Linked DNA regions of Homo sapiens: region 1 is linked to region 2. The links are contacts of gene promoters, found by promoter capture Hi-C in blood cells and fetal thymus (Javierre and others, 2016). All regions are on one chromosome and are shown on one strand. The core of a region is centred on a gene start or on the middle of the fragment in contact, and the rest is flanking DNA. Distances in the headings are between cores, read along the strand shown. Region 1 overlaps DENND6A (DENN domain containing 6A). Region 2 holds the start of APPL1 (adaptor protein, phosphotyrosine interacting with PH domain and leucine zipper 1).

The links. Contacts are between HindIII fragments. The CHiCAGO score rates a contact against its expected background, and 5 or more counts as called.
Region 1: a fragment that was not itself captured here is called in contact with the fragment with the promoter of APPL1 in region 2 in 2 of 17 cell types (total B cells and monocytes); the score reaches 6.4 in total B cells.

Annotation. Positions count from the first base shown.
Region 1 is chr3:57,666,687-57,671,114 of GRCh38, reverse strand. All of the region lies in intron 3 of DENND6A (DENN domain containing 6A), which reads left to right. Among named protein-coding and RNA genes, the nearest start is that of DENND6A, 24 kb to the left of the region's middle. The HindIII fragment of the contact is 1,088 bases long and covers 2,494-3,581 here.
Region 2 is chr3:57,225,338-57,229,966 of GRCh38, reverse strand. APPL1 (adaptor protein, phosphotyrosine interacting with PH domain and leucine zipper 1) reads right to left here and starts at 2,238. Exons shown (of 22, transcript NM_012096.3): 1 at 2,030-2,238. The coding sequence starts at 2,083. It also overlaps a transcript of HESX1 not described here. RefSeq lists a silencer at 1,781-2,440. The HindIII fragment of the contact is 8,451 bases long and covers 1-4,629 here.

The DNA of each region.
Region 1 (4,428 bases), core at 1,788-4,287, 440 kb before region 2:
TGGAACTCAGCTTTGGTGAACTATATGAAAGAAAAGTGGTATCTTGGTAAATTAGATACTGCCTTTTAGAGATCCCAGTAAGGGGTTTTTTCTGACCTGGAATTATTTTGGTGTTTTTGACCCATTTATGAAATAATGATGCAGAGGTCTTGTAGGAATGTATCTTCATTTCAGTTAACATTTTTCTTATAAAATCTGTACATACACTTCTTATATACTGTGATGGGTTAGATTTCCAGGTCTCAGAGTAAGCTGAGTTGTATGGATTGCAGAATGAACTGACTTTCTGCATGGAATCCCAGTGAATTATGCTGGATGCTCTTCTCTTTCAGATCATAGCTGGTTGTCATGGCTCCTCTCTCTTTTTCACTTCTCTATATGAGCATGAAGGGGATCAGAATATACCACCCCCAAATATACCACTTTGGCTTAAGAATTATTTTGAGTTGAAGGCAACTGAGAAACAGCAGATGCAAAAAGAGCCCTTTACCCTCCCCCTATATGCCTAAAAGCAGGACATACATTTCCTTTTGTGAAGGTGTCACCCCTTCCCTTTCCCATACCAGGAAGAGGAGAAAATTCTGAATCACCAGAGAAAACTCTTTATCACTGGAGATGGTACCAGCTTAATTCTGCATAAATAAGCCTTGCTAAAATAACCCTTATCTTTCATTAGTTTTACCCATATGTTTACCTTCCCACAGATTACCACCCCTAGAAGTCCAAATCCTTTTTCCTTTGTCTGCATTTTAGTTTCTTTTGTTAAAATGGTATCTAAGCTCCCAAGTTTAACCACCTCTTTGGGTTTTTACTTTTTTTCTCTGAAGCCTTTGTATGCATTCGAACTAAATCTTTTCTCGTTAATCTGTTGTCTGTTTATTTCACAGGCCCCAGTTAGTGAACCTAAGATGGTAGAGGAAAAGTCCCCCGCATGCATACATCAAGGCTAAGAAGTTAATTCTGTGGTGTTTAGATAGCCTATATCTAGTTTTATAGCCTCTGCATGTGTCATTATCAAAAAAATTTTTAAGTACTTTTGGCTTATGAATGACCTACAGATTTTTTTTTTCTTTTTTCTTTTTTTTTTTTTTTTTTGAGATGGAGTTTTGCTCTGTCACCCAGGCTGGAGTGCAGTGGCACGATCGCAGCTCACTGCAACCTCCGCCTCCCAGTTCAAGTGATTCTCCTGCCTCAGCCTCCCAAGTAGCTGGGACACCTTTGCCTGCCACCATGCCTGGCTAATTTTTGTATGTTTAGTAGAGATGGGGTTTCACTGTGTTGGCCAGGCTGGTCATGAACTCCCGACCTCAAGTGATTCGCCTGCCTCAGGCTTCCAAAGTGCTGGGATTACAGGTGTGAACCACTGCACCCGGCTGATTTTTTTTCTTTTCTTTTTTTTTGAGATGGAGTCTCGCTCTGTTGCCCAGGCTGGAGCGCAGTGGCGCGATCTCCACTCACTGCAAGCTCTGCCTCCCGGGTTCACGCCATTCTCCTGCCTCAGCCTCCCGAGTAGCTGGGACTACAGGTGCCCACCACCACGCCTGGCTAATTTTTTGCATTTTTAGTAGAGATGGGGTTTCACTGTGTTAGCCAGGATGGTCTTGATCTCCTGACCTTGTGATCCGCTCACCTCCGCCTCCCAAAGTGCTGAGATTAGAGGTGTGAGCTACCACGCCTGACTGATTTTTTTCTCATAGATATTATTTAATGCTTTTTTTATGTGCTGCACATCAAATGAAGTGTGGTTCTTGTGACTTGAAGTATGGTTGGTACAAGGAAAATCTACAAAAGACCTGAAAGCAGGCACTTTGCTGTCTTAACAGATCATCATTGTCCTAGGTAGCAAGAGACTATATGTTTTGTAAATATTTGAAATTGCTATTTTCAGTTGTAGTTATCCATACAGTTTGGTTTTTTTATGTGTTTATTAAATGAAAATTGGAGGCCGGGTGCAGTTGCTCACACCTGTAATCTCAGGACTTTGGGAGGCTGAGGCGGACAGATAACTTGAGATCAGGAATTCGAGACCAGCCTGGCCAACATGGTGAAACCCCATCTCTACTGAATATACAAAATTAGCTGGGCGTGGTGGTGTGTGCCCGTAGTCCCAGCTACTCAGGAGGCTGAGGCAGGAGAATCTCTTGAATCAGGGATGCTGAGGTTGCAGTGAGCCGAGATTGTGCCACTGCACTCCAGGCTGGGCGACGGAGTGAGACTCCATCTCAAGAAAAAAAAGGATTACTGTACCAACTTTGAAATGAATTTGTTATTTCCCAGGATAACCTTTAATTGCTGTAGAAGAAAGTCCAGACACAGTAGAGCAGTCTTTAGGAAAGAGACATAAATCAAGCCTTTATTTCCATTGTATACCCACTTAAACAGCATGTTAGACTGGATGAAAAAATGACACAGATAAAAATGCTTTTGAGATTGGAATCGTTTGCCCTTCCCCGCCCCTCCGCCACCTTAGATTCTCCTGACTTTAAAAAAGCTTTGTTTGGTTGGTTTTTTAGGTTTCAGTTTTTTGTTTCATTTGAATGGCTTTTATCTTTAGGAGCCTAAGTTTAAAGAGGGCCTTCCCTCTGATAAATATTTGTCCAGTGTTTTTTTCCTTATCATTTACCATTAACATCATCTGGATGTAGGTGTTCCTGAGGCTTAAGCTGTGATGAGTGCCCAAGGACAGAAGTCACTGTATTTTAAACATGTCCAGAGAAAAAAACTCAGCATTAGTAGAGAGAGTTTGAAGCAATGATGAATCTGAGGGAAACATTAATCCTCCTTGTTCTGGATGGACTTGACATGCAGACAATATTCGTCTCAACACATTTCTTCTTTGTAGACAGCAGGGACATCATCATGTGCTTTACACTTCCCAGTTGCTAAAGCAGCACTTCTCATACCGTGTTGAAGGGCCAGTTGGGGTTTTTAATATTTCCAGTCAGTTATGGACCAATATTTTTGAAAAACAATTTAATTGAATTGTTAGAAAAATAAAATGAAATGAGGAAAAAAAAGAAATGTAAAATAAAAGTCTAATTTTTTTTTTTGAGATAGGGTCTTGCTCTGTTGCCCAGGCTGGAGGTAGTGGTGTGATCTCGGCTCACTGCAACCTCTGCCTACTGTGTTCAAGAAATTCTCCTGCCTCAGCCTCCTGAGTAGCTGGGATTACAGGTGCCTGCCACCGCATCCGGCTAATTTTTATATTTTTAGTAGAGATGGGGTTTCACCGTGTTGGCCAGGCTGGTCTCAAACTCCTGACCTCAGGAGATCCACCTGCCTTGGCCTTCTGAAGTGCTGGGATTACGGGCGTGAGCCACTGTGTCTGGTCTAAAAGTCCAAATTTATTACAGCAATATCAAGTTGCTATGAAAGTTTCTAAATATATATTCTCAACTTGCATATTTATTTGGTTATGGAACAGTAACAAGAGTTTATGGACTGGCGTCAGTCTATGGAATAAATTGTGAGAAGCTCTGGTCTAAAATACTGTTTCTCAGCAACCTAGCTTAACCACCCTAATCACAGAGAGAGTGACTATATAAGCTGAGGGTCAAGGGAGGGGGCTGGCTCTTGAAGCTTCACGTTTTGTCTTAGTCTTAGGCATTTTGATCCACTCTGTAGCTATGTTTGTACAAATATAAAAATAACATTTTAAGGCCAGGTGTGGTGGCTCTCGCCTGTAATCCCAGCACTTTGGGAGGCTGACGTGGGAGGATCACTTGAGCCCAGGAGTTCAAGACCAGCCTGGGCAACATAGCAAGACCCCATCTCTAGTGAAATTTTTTTTAAAAAGGCCAGGCACAGTGGCTTACGCCTGTAATCCTAGCACTTTGGGAGGCAGATCACCTGAGATCAGGAGTGTGAGACCAACCTGGCCAACATGGTGAAACCCCATCTCTACTAAAAATACAAAAAATTGGCCAGGCGTGGTGGCACGCACCTGTAATCCCAGCTACTCAGGAGGCTGAGGCAGGATAATCTCTTGAACCCGAGCAGTGAAGGTTGCAGTGAGCCTAGATCCCGCCACTGCACTCCAGCCTGGGCAACAGAGCGAGACTCTGTCTCAAAAAAATAAAATTATGTAAGTTAATTCTTATAACTACGTTTGTAAAAGAAAAAGTCAATTTCCATTAAAATTTTTCTATTTTTCAGTGAATCATCAGAAAGCTATGGTGCTCATAGCATAACTTTTATATCTTTTTGGATCTTGTAGATCTTTAGTTTTCTTAGTGATCGTATTGGGTAAGATGCTTGGAATTCAGTACAGTCATAGGTCAAATTGGGGAATTTTATTTTAGTGTCTTTGAGTGTTACTGCTGGAAGTGACTTTAGAGATTATCTAATAGTACTCCTTGATTTTGTTGACAAGGAAATTGAGGTGAATCTTTCCTCCAAATGTAACCACTATCCTTTCTTATAACAATA
Region 2 (4,629 bases), core at 989-3,488:
CAAGGCGGGCAGATCACCTGAGGTCAGGAGTTCGAGACCAGCCTGGCCAACATGGCAAAACCCCGTCTCTACAAAAAGTACAAAAACTAGGTGGGCGTGGTGGCACACGTCTGTAATCCCAGCTACTCAGGAGGCTGAGGCATGAGAATCACTTGAACCCGGGAGGCAGAGGTTGCAGTGAGCCAAGATTGCAACATTGCACTCCAGCCTGGGCAACAAGAGCAAAACCCCGTCTCAGGAAAAAAAAAAAAAAAAAAAAAAAAAAAAGCTGGCACAGTGGCACACGCCTGTATTCCCAGCTGCTAGGGAGGCTGAGGCAGGAGGATCACTTCAGCATAGGTGTTCCAGGACACAGTGCACTACGATAGTGTCTGTGAACAGCCATTGCTCTCCAGACTGGGAAACATAGCAAGATCCCCATCTCAAAAAACAAACAAATATATTGTAAAACGGACACTAGTATGATGCATGCTTGTAAAGAAAAAAAAAAACCACAATTCTTAAGTTGTAAACTAATCTGGCAAAAACCTCAAGACATTAGATGAGTCAAGAGTTTATCTCTGCCTCACAAGTCATTTCCAGGGCAGTGTGCAATCCATTCTGAGCCGTTTATAGTCTTTATGGGCTATTAAAAAAAAAAGCCAAGTAAGAGAAGAAAGGTAAGGCAACCTGTTGAATCTTACATAATAAAAAGTAAAATGACAAAGTACACCTGACCAATTCCACAAACTTTTTGCAAATCATCTGAAACAAATACAGTTTATAACTTTATATGGAGAAATCATCAAGAAAAAAATTGAACCGAGTATACTGGCAGTCAAGATAAACCAAATGTGAGTTTCTCTTTTTGTCACTATCAGCTGTTAAGAGTACATTAGCAGCAGGCAACTGGCCTGTGAAGATAACTTTCAGAATAAAAAAGAACAAATCAATTCTACAATCAGAGCCCCATTTCAACTTGGCAATTAACATTGGCACAAAATCCATGGCAGAAGTGCCATCCAGGAAAAGGAGATCTAGACCTCTTCTGCTTTTCTTCTTTGGGGGCCATGTTCAACTGTAAAGACACACGAAATGGTGCAACTGCATTTCTAAATCAGCAACAATTCAGAAATGTTTCATTCTAAATAGTGTCCAACCAGCAACACCGTCTTAAACCGTTTAAATTATCGTGTAAAACGGCTTAGAGATGAAGTTTTCCCTATGCAAGTTACAGCCCCTGCCAACATTTTAAAAAATATAGCTGCTTTCATTCTGCAGTACTGAAAACATATTAAATGGTTACATTTTCCAAAACTGTCTTAAGCTAGAGCAACCACATCAGCATCATTCCGACGCACAGAACACAGGGCTTTTATTTTGATGAGTTTATTAAGGCCAAGTCTGCAGGGAGCAGCGCAGCAGTCGCGGAGCGGCGAAGGCACCGTCCATCCCTCGCCGTGCACAGCTCGAGTGACAGCGACCACAGTCACGGCCGCGACACGGGCACATTCGGCGGGGAGAGCGGTCTTGGGCTCCGGGACCCGTCACGGGCTTTGCCATTAGGGCTCCACACACAACCTTACAGCCTCTCCCAAAGAAAAACGATCCATTTCCTTCCTTAGCTTGCTGAGCCTCGGAAATCATTAAATAAGACTATCGGGGTTTCTCTCCCTTCTGCAATTTTTCTGAAGAGGTTCTCAGGGAGAAAATTCCAGGATCGAGATTTGGCACCTCACATCACCGCGATAAAAACGGCGCCTTTCGTCAAATAAAAAGGACCCGCGCGCGTACGTGACCGCCCGGCCCACGAGCACCAGCGGCTCGGTCTCCGCCTGCGGCCCTCGGCCCAGCCGAGCAGGCCCACGCGGGCCTTGGGCGGCGGGCCCAGCCTCCACAACTCCGGGCGCGGCCTGCGACGGGCGGTGACCTAGGGCGGCGGCGGCCCCCACCTGGGCCGGGGCGGGCACCTGCGGGAGCCGCGGAGGCGCCAGACCTGGGGTCGGCCAGCTGGGCTCTCCCTCGTCGCCCACCAGCTCCCGCGCCTCACCTGCGGGCTGTCCTCCAGCGTCTCCTCGATGGGCAGCTTGTCGATCCCCGGCATCGTGGCGGAGGGAGGGCGGTGGCAGGAGACGCAGCTGCCGCCCACAGCTCCCCGCGCCGGCCCGCCCGCCGCAGCTGACCCCGGCCCGCCCTCTCCGGCAAGGGCTGCAGCCGTCCCCGCCCGCACAGCCTTCTCCAGGCGCCGAGCGGCCGTGCGGGAAATCCCGCCCCCTCGGCCTCCCTGCCCCGCCTCCCGGCGCGTCCATTGGCTCCCGGGGACGCCCATCCGCGCTGCGGCGGTGGTCGGGAGGTTCCCGTGCGGCGCTAGGCTCTCCCGCGAGCGCGGGCGTCGGAAGCGGCGGAGGTGGCAGTGTCTGCCCTGGGATGGCCTTCCCTGCACGCGCGCGTTTGTATCTAAATCGCAGGGGACCGTCTCTTCCTCAGCTTGCCGGCGCGAGGAGCCAGAGCCTCGAGTTAGGGCCACACGGGGGAATTTGGGGCGGGTTGACTTTTCCCGCAACATATTTTGTCAGAGACCTTGGAGAAAGTCCTACTGCTGGCGCCTTTTAGTTTCCTCAGATGATAACATTCCCAACTCCGCTCGAAGCGTCCAGTCTTAATCCCCTCCAGCAGAATGGTGCTGACTAACTCAGATGTCTGAGATCCGCAGCTGTGTCAATAATAGGGCTTTCTGGCAAACTTGTGAACGTAGGCTCGAAATTGTTTTTCTGGACGCTTGAATATCAGTATATTCAGTTGAAAACATGTGATTTTGTTGCCAGTTTATCAGTTCCTACCTGGCCTCCCGAGGTCAGTCCTTCAGGACTGACGCTGCAACTCCAACTCCCATGTTTCTTTTAAATCACAAAGGAAAATATCTTTTAAAAATCAGGATACACTGATTAATTATGTTAGTAACTAATTGGCATTTGTTGAATCAAAAAGTTTTGGAAGCGTTAAATAGTTTTAGCCTCTAATTTTACAATAAAGTGAAGCTCAAAGTTGGGAATTTGACCGGATGAGGGCTACAAGCCTATCCTTTCCTCCTCCCTCTTCATCTTTCCCAACCTGTCACCCTGGCTCGTTTATGTCTCTGTATAGTTGTAGGCTTTCATCATTATACAGAGAAAATAACAAAGTAAGTAGTGTCTTCTAAACATCTAGCCATTAATTCCACCAATCCATTCCATTTTCATTCAAGAAATACCAGAGATGCTGAGTAAAGATTAATTAGCTGCCTGGTTCCACAGATACATGGGAACAAATCCAGAATAGTAGTAGCTCAAATCCAAATATAGTAACAAATAGAAGTTATATATTTTAAACGAAAATAGTAGATTTTCCCATGATCTCTTGAAAGAAAAATAAAATTATATTTTTAAAGTTTTGTTGAGTAGACTTGCATTGTAGTTTTACGGAATTATTTTTAGTGTTACAATCTTTAAAAGTTTTCCCCTTAGATTGTTTATCAGCCAGTCTCTCTCTCCCGAAGAGTTCTTTAGTTTTTGAGGAAGTTGATTTGGAGGCAGTTCTTACAATGAGTTAAGGGTTCCCAGTTGTGTTACAGTTTCTTTTTCCTTGATATCTCATTTCTACTCTGCCAACAAGAACACCATGCACCCCAGCTCTAAAGAAGGAAGACTTTCAAGGTAAGTGACCTTCCTGATTGAACTGAGTTAGATTTTAAATGAAGAAAGGTTGTGGCAACTGTTAAGAATCAGGAGTAAGTGAGGAGTGTAAACAATGTATAAGAAAGAAAAAAAAAAAGGCCTGGCGCTGTGGCTCACGCCTGTAATCCCAGCAATTTGGGAGGCCGTGGCAGCTGGATCACCTGAGGTCAGGAGTTCAAGACCAGCCTGCCCAACATGGCGAAACCCAGTCTCTACTAACAATACAAAAATTAGCCGGGCGTGGTGGCGTGCCTGTAGTCCCAGCTACTCAGGCGGCTGAGGCAGGAGACTCAGTTGAAGCCGGGAGGCCCAGGTGCAGTGAGCTGAGATCATACCACTGCGCTCCGGCCTGGGCGACAGAGCAAGACTACGTATCAAAAAAAAAAAAAAAAAGAAAAGAAAAGAAAAGTATTTGTTACCTAATTAACTTGGCCAAACCAAATAATTCCGATGAAAAATTCGATTAGTTATCTGAATTATCTGGGTGTGGTATTGTCAAGTTAAATGGTTTCCTTCTTAGTATGTTATGTACATCTAAACTGTGTTTCTGTAAAGGACTCTCAAGAGGCCATTACATTATCGCAGAATGGCAAGGAATTCTTGCCGGACTCAGCTGGTTAAAAAATAAAACAGGCTGGGCGCGGTGGGGCTCACGCCTGTAATCCCAGCACTTTGGGAGGCTGAGGCAGGCGGATCAAGAGGTCAAGAGATGGAGACCATCCTGGCCAACTGGTGAAACCCCGTCTCTACCAAAAATACAAAAATTAGCTGGGCATGGTGGCACACGCCTGTAGTTCCAGCTCTTTGGGAAGCTGAGGCAGGAGAATCGCTTGAACCCGGGAGGTGGAGGTTGCAGTGAGCCGAAACTGCACTCCAGCCTGGGCGACAGAGCGAAACTCTGTCTCAAAAACAAAAAATAAATAAAAATGAAAAAATA